Regions from separate parts of the Homo sapiens genome. Here regions 2, 3 and 4 are each linked to region 1. The links are contacts of gene promoters, found by promoter capture Hi-C in blood cells and fetal thymus (Javierre and others, 2016). All regions are on one chromosome and are shown on one strand. The core of a region is centred on a gene start or on the middle of the fragment in contact, and the rest is flanking DNA. Distances in the headings are between cores, read along the strand shown.

What was found. The method cuts DNA at HindIII sites, captures the fragments that hold promoters and counts their contacts. A CHiCAGO score of 5 or more calls a contact.
Region 2: a contact is called between a fragment that was not itself captured here and the fragment with the promoter of SLC29A1 in region 1, in 1 of 17 cell types (neutrophils). The highest score is 7.6, in neutrophils.
Region 3: a fragment that was not itself captured here is called in contact with the fragment with the promoter of SLC29A1 in region 1 in 1 of 17 cell types (monocytes); the score reaches 5.7 in monocytes.
Region 4: a contact is called between a fragment that was not itself captured here and the fragment with the promoter of SLC29A1 in region 1, in 1 of 17 cell types (monocytes). The highest score is 5.6, in monocytes.

The regions. Positions count from the first base shown.
Region 1 is chr6:44,222,263-44,224,844 of GRCh38, reverse strand. It overlaps SLC29A1 (solute carrier family 29 member 1 (Augustine blood group)), which reads right to left and starts at 1,250. Exons shown (of 13, transcript NM_001372327.1): 1 at 1,204-1,250. RefSeq lists enhancers at 171-320, 563-1,421 and a silencer at 1,011-1,410. The HindIII fragment of the contact is 15,932 bases long and covers 1-2,582 here.
Region 2 is chr6:43,722,274-43,724,855 of GRCh38, reverse strand. No RefSeq gene overlaps it. Among named protein-coding and RNA genes, the nearest start is that of MRPS18A, 36 kb to the right of the region's middle. The HindIII fragment of the contact is 7,123 bases long and covers 1-2,582 here.
Region 3 is chr6:43,815,589-43,818,170 of GRCh38, reverse strand. All of the region lies in intron 1 of LOC105375070 (a long non-coding RNA gene), which reads right to left. Among named protein-coding and RNA genes, the nearest start is that of LINC02537, 35 kb to the left of the region's middle. RefSeq lists enhancers at 838-897, 1,018-1,067. The HindIII fragment of the contact is 1,289 bases long and covers 638-1,926 here.
Region 4 is chr6:43,902,593-43,905,174 of GRCh38, reverse strand. The region is part of intron 1 of LINC01512 (long intergenic non-protein coding RNA 1512); the gene reads right to left. It overlaps LOC105375070 (a long non-coding RNA gene), which reads right to left. Exons shown (of 3, transcript XR_007059588.1): 3 at 660-877. Among named protein-coding and RNA genes, the nearest start is that of LINC01512, 13 kb to the right of the region's middle. The HindIII fragment of the contact is 1,598 bases long and covers 478-2,075 here.

The DNA.
Region 1 (2,582 bases), core at 1-2,500:
GATACCAGCTCAGAGCATCTGGTGTCCCTCCAACTATGCCTTGGCCTGCTGAGGTGGGCCCCTGAAAGTAGCCACCAAATTGAGTACCTCCCTGCCTCCAGACTCCCAACACCTCTCCTGCAATTCTCCACTCCCAGGATTTCATATGGGGCTAGCCACTACCTGCAGATCTCTTGTCTTTTCTTCACAACCACCCATAAGCTAGTACTAGCACTGAATAGATGGGGCCAGCTGAGGTTCAGAGGGGTTGAGTCACTTGCCTGAAGTCACAGAGCTGGTGAGTGGAGGAGCTAGAATCCATATTAAATGTTCAAGCTCCTTTTGGAATGGAGAGAGGTATAAAAGCTGCTTCTCAGTTAGCCCTGTAGACTGGGAGGTGGGGGGAACTCTGATTCAACTAAAGGGAAAAATGAGGTGGAGACCAAGATCATTCCCAGCCTGACTTGAGTGTCAGGCAGCTCAGCCCCGCCCCATCACACACATCCTGGCATGGGGAGCTTACACAAGCAGGAGGAAAGTTGGAGGGTCTGGAGGCCACCGAGAGGAGTAGGCAAAGGGACTACCACAGGGCTGCAGAGAGACCCCTAGAGGTGTGAGGGCAGGGTTGGAGCCAGCCTTGACCTACGACTGCTCTCTCCTGGTAAGCAAAGCCGAGGACTGTTTGTCTTCACCCTCTCATATACCCTCACAGTAAATCAGTAAATGAAGACGTGCGCAGGAAGGAGACGCCAGGGATACGAGTTTAGCCAGTAAAAGACCGGGGTTAAAGAGACAGCCCCGCACCTCCGCTCGCGAGCCTGCACCTCCGCTCGCGAGCCTCCATCCCCATCCCCATCCCCATACCCCTCCGCCAGCGCAGTCAGCGGCACGGCCCCTCCCTGATACCGACCAGATCGATGGGGATCACCCGTCCACTCGCCTGCCCCTTGCGGAGGTCAACGTGACCGCAGCCTGTTTTAGGCCCGGGAGCCAGGCCGCCCCGCCCAGCTTGGGTCCCGGTCCCCGCAGGGTCCTCAGGCTCCCTGGCCCGTGCGCGCCACGTGCTGCGCGGCTCCGCACGCTCCGCACTGGGGCCCCACCCGGCGTCCCTTCTCCGGGCTGCGGAGCCGTCAGGCCCGCCCTCCCTGCCCTCCGTGGCAGGCGGGCAGCGGCGTCTTCCGCCCCGGCAGTCCCCAGTCCCCAGTCCCCGGCCCCGGGCAGCACCTGCCGCAGAAGCACTGCTCCCGCGCTGAGATCCGCGCGCTCTCGCTGCAGCTTCCCTCTCCCGCCGGGGCACATTCAAACCCGCCCTCCGCTGAGCTCGCCCCGCCCTGCGCCCACTGCCACCTCCCCGACGCCCGCGGCCCCGCCCCCGGCCCACCCCTGCCACCCCGCGGCGACTCCGCGCGCTCCGCCGCTCCCACCCCGAGCCCCTGCGCCCCCAGGGCCGCCTGGTCGTGTTATTGCGGTAGATAGGACCTCTTTGGGCCCTGCCACACCAAGGCTGTCTGTCCATCGTGTGGGGTACATGGGGCTGGAGGGTACAGCCACACATTAAGGACCTGCGCAGACTCCCATAAAATTCATCTCGGGACTGTTCCATTTACACACCCGCTGCTCAGACCGGCCCCGACGCTCCACGGCCCACTCCACCTCAGATATTCCGTTATCCCTTCCCAAGCCCTGCCCACGCCGCGCTTCCTCCACACTGCACCTTTTTCCTCCCAGCGCCCTCCCTTTCAGCGCCCCCTTCTTTCTTTCAGTCCCCCTCCTCTTCTTTTCCTTCAAAACTGCTTCTGTCCCCACCGCGCATTTTCTGTGACCAGCATGATGGGTTTTCCCATCCCTGACACATCCAGTCCCAGCCACAGACGCGCAAACACCACCCCACTCACAACTTTGACTTGGAGGGGGTATGTGCCTCTGCCTGTGCTTGCGTGTGCGCGCGGAGGGGGGTGGGGCAAAGCCCTCCAGCTCCCTCATAATTCACCCTTTCTAAATCCAGCACTTTGGAAAACTGAGGCACAGGTGGGAATGGGAAGAGAAAAAGCTAGGAACAGCCTTATATCCTCAGTGAATCCTATTGTCCCAGCCATCCTGACAGGCGGAAGCCTTGCTGAGTATGTCTTTCACTAGCTAAGGAGGAAGGTGTGGGCGTGCTGAGGGGTGGTCCAGCAAGTCCCTCCAAGGGAGGGGGAGGGAGGCCCTCTCTTTGGTCGGGCAATAAATGGGGTGGGGTGGGGGGCACTCCCTGCCCTTCCAGCAGTACTCAGTGCTAGAGGATGATCCTAAGGCTGGAAAGGTCCTGAGGAGAAAATCCAACCCACGCTGCCCACCCCATGCCCACTGACCCGAAGGGCTTGTCCCCTAGAGAAGCCACAGACACTGATTAACAACTGGCAGTACCTCACATCATAGGGATAAGGTAGTCCTACCCTGTCCCCAGAGAAACAGACAGGGCCCTAAGGAGAGAGGTGGCTTTTCTAATTAGGGTCAGTGGCTCTCCCCAAGCTACTCCAGAATGGGTGTCCCCAGCCTTCTGTTTCCATGCCCCACAGAGATGACACACATATTCCTTCCCAACCCTCCCCCACCCCACCCCC
Region 2 (2,582 bases), core at 33-2,532, 500 kb after region 1:
AGGAGACGGAGGGGTGGATAAGATGACCTCTAAAAGGGCCCTTTCCTCTTGGGGCTTCTCCCCAGTAGAAGTGGGTGTGCCTTGAGGGGAGCTCCATCATCACCCTTTCTCCAGGAAGACCGAGGACAGTGGCCAGAGCTCTTTTGAGAAGAGACTAAGGAGCAGGAGGCAGGGGATGGGTAACTTTCTTCTGGAGGCAGGGGATGGGTAACTTTCTTCTTTGTAGTTTTTTCCCCCACTTTTCTACAACAGACATGTGTCACACACTACTTGCAATGGGTGGAGGAGGGAGTGTGTTGGGAGGGCAAATGCTCTTGGGGAAGGTTAATGTATCAAGCACACCCCCTTTCCCACCCTTAAGCCAGCATTTCCCTAACTATGTTGTGGCAAACGGGCTCAAATAAGCACAGGAAACCTGAGTTAAACACAGTCTAACAGGTTTTCTTGACTGCAGGACTTCTCTGAGCCTCTAACATGCTAATCTGGGCTACAACCCTCAGAGACGAGGGACGAGACAAGGAAACGCATTTAATCTCAGAGCTCTTTATAGGGGAGCATCTCAAGATGCACTTACTAGGCACTGCTGGAACTCAGAGTCCGGTGGCACGCCAGGCCCACACCCCATTGGTGAAGAGCCTCCATGGAGGAGAGACAGCCTAGGCCCCGGAGGACACCAAGGGCAGATGCCCTAGGCAGCTACCTCCCACTGCGTGAGTCCAATCCCAATCCTTCTCCCCAGAACTGGTCCAAGACCTGTATCCCAGTTACGAAGGCAGGTAGTAATGTGGGAGGGCCCATGGGTGGCCCTGCCGCTTCCCTGAAGTTACTTAGATCTGCAGTGACCCCTGCTGGCTCTAGCCAAAATCACCCCTCCCCTTACTCCTCACCTTCCTCCTTGCCAATCCCTGGCCCTCCAGCCTCTTCCTCATTAGCCTTGACGCAGCCCCATCAGGACCCACCGTGACCACACCCAAACACCAGATCCTTTATGCTTTCCTTCATGCCTGGGGTTGGAATCTGGCCAGGCTTTGACTGAGCAACATGTTAGTGAGTTCTGAGGCCTGTGCTGGGGAGGCCCTGATGGCATGAGGAAGAGGGCTCCGAGGACAGCCTGACCCCTTATCAAGGGCACAGTCACCCGCATGGAAGTTCAAGACCACTATCATAACAGCAAACATTCATTGGCTTTTTCAGGAACAGAGCTGAATCCTTTATGTCGAGTATTCCATTTAATTCTCATAAGAATTCTACAGGCACTGTTCCTGCATTGATCCAGTTTTCCAATGAGAAACTGAGGCTCAGAAGTTTAAAAATTACCAAATGGCAAAACTCAGATTCAAATCTGGATTTCTGGATTTGAGCCCACCCGTTCCTTCCCCGTGCTATTTTGCTCTTCTTGCTTCTGCCCACCCCTCAATCCACCTACAGTGTTCAAGTGTAGTTTTTTCTGCCCAGTGCCCGTGGTTTTGGGGAAGATGACTCAAGTGGACTTGCCTCATGTCCTCCAAGCATGGCCTTGTGAGCAGACCTAGCCAGTCATTATACCCTTCCCCCTAGTCAACGGGAACACAGATTGGGTTTTCATCCCCCGGAACCCATTCTTTCTTCTGATAAATAGCCTCTTGATTTCCTCTGGGCAGTCCCTACACTCTCAGTAAAAGTGGCTTGGATGGAAATGACTCCATCTCCCTGTCTCCGTGGGAAGATTCAGACCACTCAAGCACAGAAAAAAAAAAAAAAAAAAAAAAAAGTCCTATCCATAGTGATTGGTTCAGGAAGGACATATGACCAAACCAGGCCCATCAGAGTCAATCCTGGAATTTTACTGGAGCCACTGGGAAGAAGAATGGCTTTCTGCTCTCTCCGAAGTTACTAAATGGGTACGTATATTCCAAGAGTTTCCAGGAGTACTGCCTAAGGAGAACATGCGCGAGAAGGAAGCCCACACAGAGGAGAGCAGAGACCAAGCCCTGCAGACATTGTCCGGGCTGTGCCAAAGACAGACTCACCCCTGGACTCTTCAGTGATATAAGCCAATAAATTACTTTTTTGTTGTTGTTTTTGTCTTAAGCAAGTATGAGTTGGGTTCCTGTCCTTTGAAACAAAGATCTATCGAAGCCTCCCCCCATTATTCCTCATTGTTAACAGCTGTGTTTCCTTCTTGCCTTTTTCTCCCATGCTTACACAGACATACTGGACACTTTCTAAATAAAAATTGACGCCACTGGCTACTCCTTTCTTCAAGATATACTCTTTCGCTTATTTTTGTAAAGCCTAGCTCCCGGTTTTCGGCTCTCTTCCTGCCCCTCTGAAGTCCTGTCCATCTTATTTTCCTTCACTGGCTCCTCTCTGTTTGCGAGTAACAGAAACCACCTCTGGCACTTATAAGAAAAAATAAAAAACAAAAGAATTAACTGGAAAAATATTAAGGAGCTAGGTCAGAGAATCGACTGGGAGTCTGGAGTACCTAACTTGGAAACCAGACAGAAGTGACTTGGCTGAACTCCAAAGGCCCCTTCCATCCTAGTGTCAGGATGCTCAAGATGCCCAGACCCAAGAGTCTGACCAGCTGAGTTTAGGTC
Region 3 (2,582 bases), core at 33-2,532, 410 kb after region 1:
TTAGTTTTTACCTTCTTGGATCATAGTAGCAGCCTTCCAAACAGGAGGTTGTCCATTTACCTTGGAACTGCCATCCACAAACCAAGCAGCTATTTGCTGGTCAGTTGAGAGCACTGTAGGATCCACAGCTCCTCACACAGTTCCACAGTCAGTCCTAGGGTGTAATGAGGCTCCCTGCTCATATCTCCTCCTTACATTCCTCAGGTTGCATGATTCTGTATAAGCCATTTCCATTTTATTATGGAACCCTCCTGGGCACTGCTGTCCTCATTAGAGTGTTTTTCTGACATCACCCGGGACAGCATGGATGTTTCAGGTGTCAAGATCATTTTATGTCCTTCAGACATGGGGTACCAAGGATACAATGAACAGATGCGTAAGACAAGGTATGCAGGAAGGACGTGGAGCTTCCATGCCCTCCCTGGGCGCACCGCCCTCCAGGAACGGCCATGTTTCCAGCTATCCAGAAGCTTCCCACTTTTCTAATGCTCACTAACTACTCCTTCCATAATCCACAAGGATCCTTGCCCAGGACTCTTTTTAAAACTCAGAACCACGTTTTTCCCTTCTCAAGGCCCCCGTGCTCTTGGCTTTCTCAGGTGGGACAAAGTGGCCCCAGCAGTCTGGTTCACAAGCTTCCTTTGTGCCCCAAGTGTTGTTTTATGGGGAGAGGCCCTTTGAACACCCCAGCAGCAGTGGAGAGGGGAGGGCCCATCCCACCTCCAGGGCTCCCTGGGCCTCTGTGTCATCTACTGCTGCCCTCTGGGTTTGCAGGCTGCTCTCCTGCCAGGGGGCAGCAAGGAGCCCTACTCTTCGTACACTCCCCACCCGTGCTGTGTCATCAGGCCCAACTGCAGCCTCTGGATCCCTTGATCTTGACTGGCTATGATCACAGCTAAACAAGCCTGGGTTGCCCCTAGCATCTTTCACAAACCTCTACCTATTTTTATCTTCCAGAAACTCTCTTTACAGGCCCGTAGTCCTGTCTCACATCTGTCCTTCCCTTCTCTGTTCAAGCCTCCTTAACACAGCAATTTGGCAAAGAGCTCTCCTGCCACACACTGATTTCTGTGGTCACCTCCCTTCTTCCTTCATTACTGGGACGCAGACTACCCTGTGTGGGATTGCACAGTGTCATGTACATTTTTGAGAGCTTCCCAGCCCTCTTGAGACAGCTATCCCACCCAGAGATTCGTGGCATGGAACCCTGCCTGTCTTTTTGCTGAAATATTGGCAGTCTGACTTTGGAAAGTCTGTTCCAGGCCCAAGTCTGTTCCAGGCCCTCCACAGCTCTCATCTGGATGGCTGCAAGAACCTCCTTGCTGGTCTCCCTGCTGCACTCTGAGCTTCTCACGGCCTCTCCCACCCACCCAATCTCTGTACCAGCATTGAGTAATATTTCTAAATTGCACAGCCAGCCCTGCCCCTGCACTGGCAGAAGCCAGGATAAATTGGTTAGACAAGGTTGACAGCATGACTTTCAAAGCCCACCGTGGCCTGGTTTCTTCCCCTCTCCACCTGCACCTCCTCTCTCTCTCTCTCTGTCTCTCTCTCTCCCCATCACTTAACTAAATATCTAATTGTGCTCACTTTCCTGGACATACTAGGTTATTTCACATGTCTATTTCTGCTTCTGCTCCTGCTGTCAATCTACCTAGGATGACGTTGCAACTGTTCTTGATACAGCTGCTCTAAAACTCACTCAGGAGCCACCTTTTCCAGGAACCCTTCCCTGAGCCCCCAAGTTAGGCCAACTCTGCTCCTCTGGTTTCTCTTTGCATCCTGAGCCTATCCTAGCTCTTACCACACAAGGCAGGCACTGCTCATCCTACCTAACAGTGATTCTGCTCCACCCTTTCTTCCTTGCCACCAGAACCTCACCTTTTCGGGTGACAATGTATCTAGGCCCAGAAGATGAGTCAAGCTTCATCTAAGACATCACCAGCATCCTGTTCCTATTTGCTAGTCCCTCAGTTTCCCAGCCTCCCTGAAGCATTTCCTCTCAGTTGTGCCCAATGATACATGAGAGGTCATTTTCAGAGGGGGTATCTGGGAAACACGTTTCTTCCCTGATAAAAATAGAGCCCCTTTCTCTCCTTGGCTTTTTTCTTTTCTGCCTTGAATATAATTATAGGAGTCACCATAGCAGCCATCTTGTGACCAGGAGGCAACAAGCATGGAGACAAAAATTAACACGTTGAAGATGGCAGAGCAGAAGGATAGAAAAAGGCTGAGTTTTGATAGCATCATTGATGTCATCCTTTCACCAAAGCTGGAACCCTCTGCCTCCAGACTTCCAGTGATGTGATATTGATCAATGTCTTTATTGCTCAAGCCACTGTCTGTTGGGTATTCTGTTGCTTGATACCAAATATATTCCCAACTGATGTGGGCTGTCATAAAAACAATCTTGGTATCTGCCTCCATGACTAGACTCCTTGAGGGCAGGAATGGTGTCTTATTTTTCTTAGTATTCCCAGAGCCTAACACAATGACTCAATAAATTATGGTTCGAAGGAATTAAACTGATGACTTCCCTTCCCTCTCGATTACAAATAACAGAACAGGTCCACTTTAAATTT
Region 4 (2,582 bases), core at 27-2,526, 320 kb after region 1:
AGGAAGGAAAAAGAAAGAAAGAAAGAAAGAAAGAAAGAAAGAAAGAAAGAAAGAAAGAAAGAAAGAAAGAAAAGAAAGAAAGAAAGAAGAGAAAGAAAGAAAAGAAAGAAAGAAGAGAAAGAAGAGAAAGAAAGAAAGAAGAAAGAAAAAGGAAGAAAGAAAAAGAAAGAAAGAAAGAGAAAGAGACGGAAAGAAAGAAAGAGAGGGAGGGAGGAAGGAAGGAAGGAAGGAAGGAAGGAAGGAAGGAAGGAAGGAAAGGAAGGAATCCAATAAGTACTGGAGAATATAGTAAAAAGCAAGTCTCCCTCCCACTCCTGTGTCCCCTCCCGTAGACCATCCCCTGAGGCCAGCGGTGGCCAGTGACTCACCTTCTTCCTGGAGATGTTCTAGGCATATACGAGCACCATATTGTTGTGCAGAGAGCTGCCTTATTCTTTCTCTGGCTTTGTTGTAAAGAAGATGTATTTTTAAAAAGCTTCTCAGCAAATTTGGATAAAAAGCTAATTTGGGGAAGAACTGACTGAGCAAACTTCTTTGGAGCTGACAACTCTATCTAGATTCAAATTTTGACTGTGACATTTATGAGTTTAGTGACCTTGGACAAGATCCATGACCTCTTCAACCTCCAAGCCTTAGTTTTCCTATCCATAGAGGGAGGATAACCGTGGTAGAGTTTTAATGATGATTAGAAATAATTTATGGCCAGTGCCTGGTGCATACTAGGAGATAATAATAATGGGTGGGGGGGGGGTGTGATACATTTACATGCTATGCAGTGACATAAGAATAATCACAAAGAAAGTTTCAGCAAACACAAAGGGTTCCAAGGTGGGCCGTGCTGCAAGATGAATCCTTTCAGCTGAGGTGGAGGAAGAATCTGTAGAAGAACAAGAAAGAAGGAGATGTCCTTCTGGGCAGCGAGCCCCCATCCCCAAAGTCTGTAAGTGACACCAGAGGACACTCTGTCAGGGATTCTGCACAAGAGATGTGGCGGGCCAGATGAGATGCCTTCCAGGCACTTCCCAGCTCTGGGAGACTGTGCATAGCCATACACTCAGAATGCTGAGAGGTAACTTTCCGGGTAGAACTGACAAGCCTGAGGTGTACCTGTTTGTAGGATAATCTACTGTTGGTCTGGATGGCAGATGTCACTAAGTCAAGGGCTGGCAGGGCCAGTGTTGCCAGGAAACCGCAGCCCCAGGCTGACCGGGGCCACTGCCATGAGTGCTTCAATCAGGCCCAGTGCTCTGCCTTCAATCAGGCCCAGGCTCCCTGTTTGTTCGCAGGAGCCTGGTGGCTCCTGACTGATAGGGACTTGGGCTTCCCGTGCATGCTGTCTGGTCTTGGGCACACAGGAGCTAAAGAACTCTTTGTAGAATTACCTTCTGAATCACAAAACCTAGTTGGAAAAAAAATAATTCCATGAAATTCAGGAAAAGAGTTGGGAGAGGGGTTGAGTAAGAAGTGAGTTCAAATCCCAGCTCTGCAATTTCCTAGAGGTACAACTTCAGGGGCACTATGTAATTTTCCCTCCTTAGAGCCTTAGTTGCTTTTTTTCTTTCCCTTTTGAGACAGGGTCTTGCTCTGTCATCCAGGCTGGAATGCAGTGGCATGATCAGAGAGCTCACTGCAGCCTGGACCTTCTGGGCTCAAGTGATTCTCCCGTCTCAGCCTCCCAAGTAGCTGGGACTACAGGCATGCGGCACTGTGCCCAGCTAATTATTTTAATTTTATTTTTTGTAGAGACAAGGTCTCACTATGTTGCCCACACTGGTCTCAAACTTCTGGGCCCAAACGATCCCCCTGCCTCGGCCTCCCAAAGTGCTGGGATTACAGGTGTGAGCCACCACACCGGACACCTTCATTTCCTTGTTTGTGAAATAGGGCCTTCCTTCAAGAATTAAGTCATATAATGTCTGTTAAGAAACTAGCATAGGGCCTGCTACACAACAATAATAATCTAAATTTGTCATTTTTTTCCCTTCAAAATAGACAGCTGTTGGGATTCAATTGATTATATTTGCAAATGAATTTTATATGTACTGCTTTTGAGTAGTCACTGAAGTAGAAAAGCTTTATCAAGGAGATTTTTTGGTAGGAAGTGAGTTCTGAATGGGGGTTGAAAAGGACTCTAATTAATTCAGTAATTTTTTTATTGAACAACTACCATATGCCAGGCATGATCTTAGGCTCTGGAAATGAAGCAGTGTACAAAGTGGACCAGAATTCCTGCCCTCATGGAGTGTACCTTTTAGTGAACTGTCTTAGAACCAAAGCTGCCACTTTGGGAGGGGGACTTATCCAGACTCGAACAGCCCCTTTCCTACTCCTTCTCTGTTGATAGGATCAGACCAGGCTGCTTCCCCACCCCAGGAAAGAATAGCCTGGCTAGTACCATAGGTCACACTTCACTGATCCTAGGGCACCCAATCTGGGTCTGACCTGCAAGACTCACATGGAGTGAGGGGCTGGCAAGGGGCTCCAGGTCCTGCAGAACACTCATCCCACTCTGGTATCTGTCCACACCCAGAAAGTCTCCCTCCAGATGCTAGCCAGGGGCCCTTGGCCTTCTCTGGGTAAGT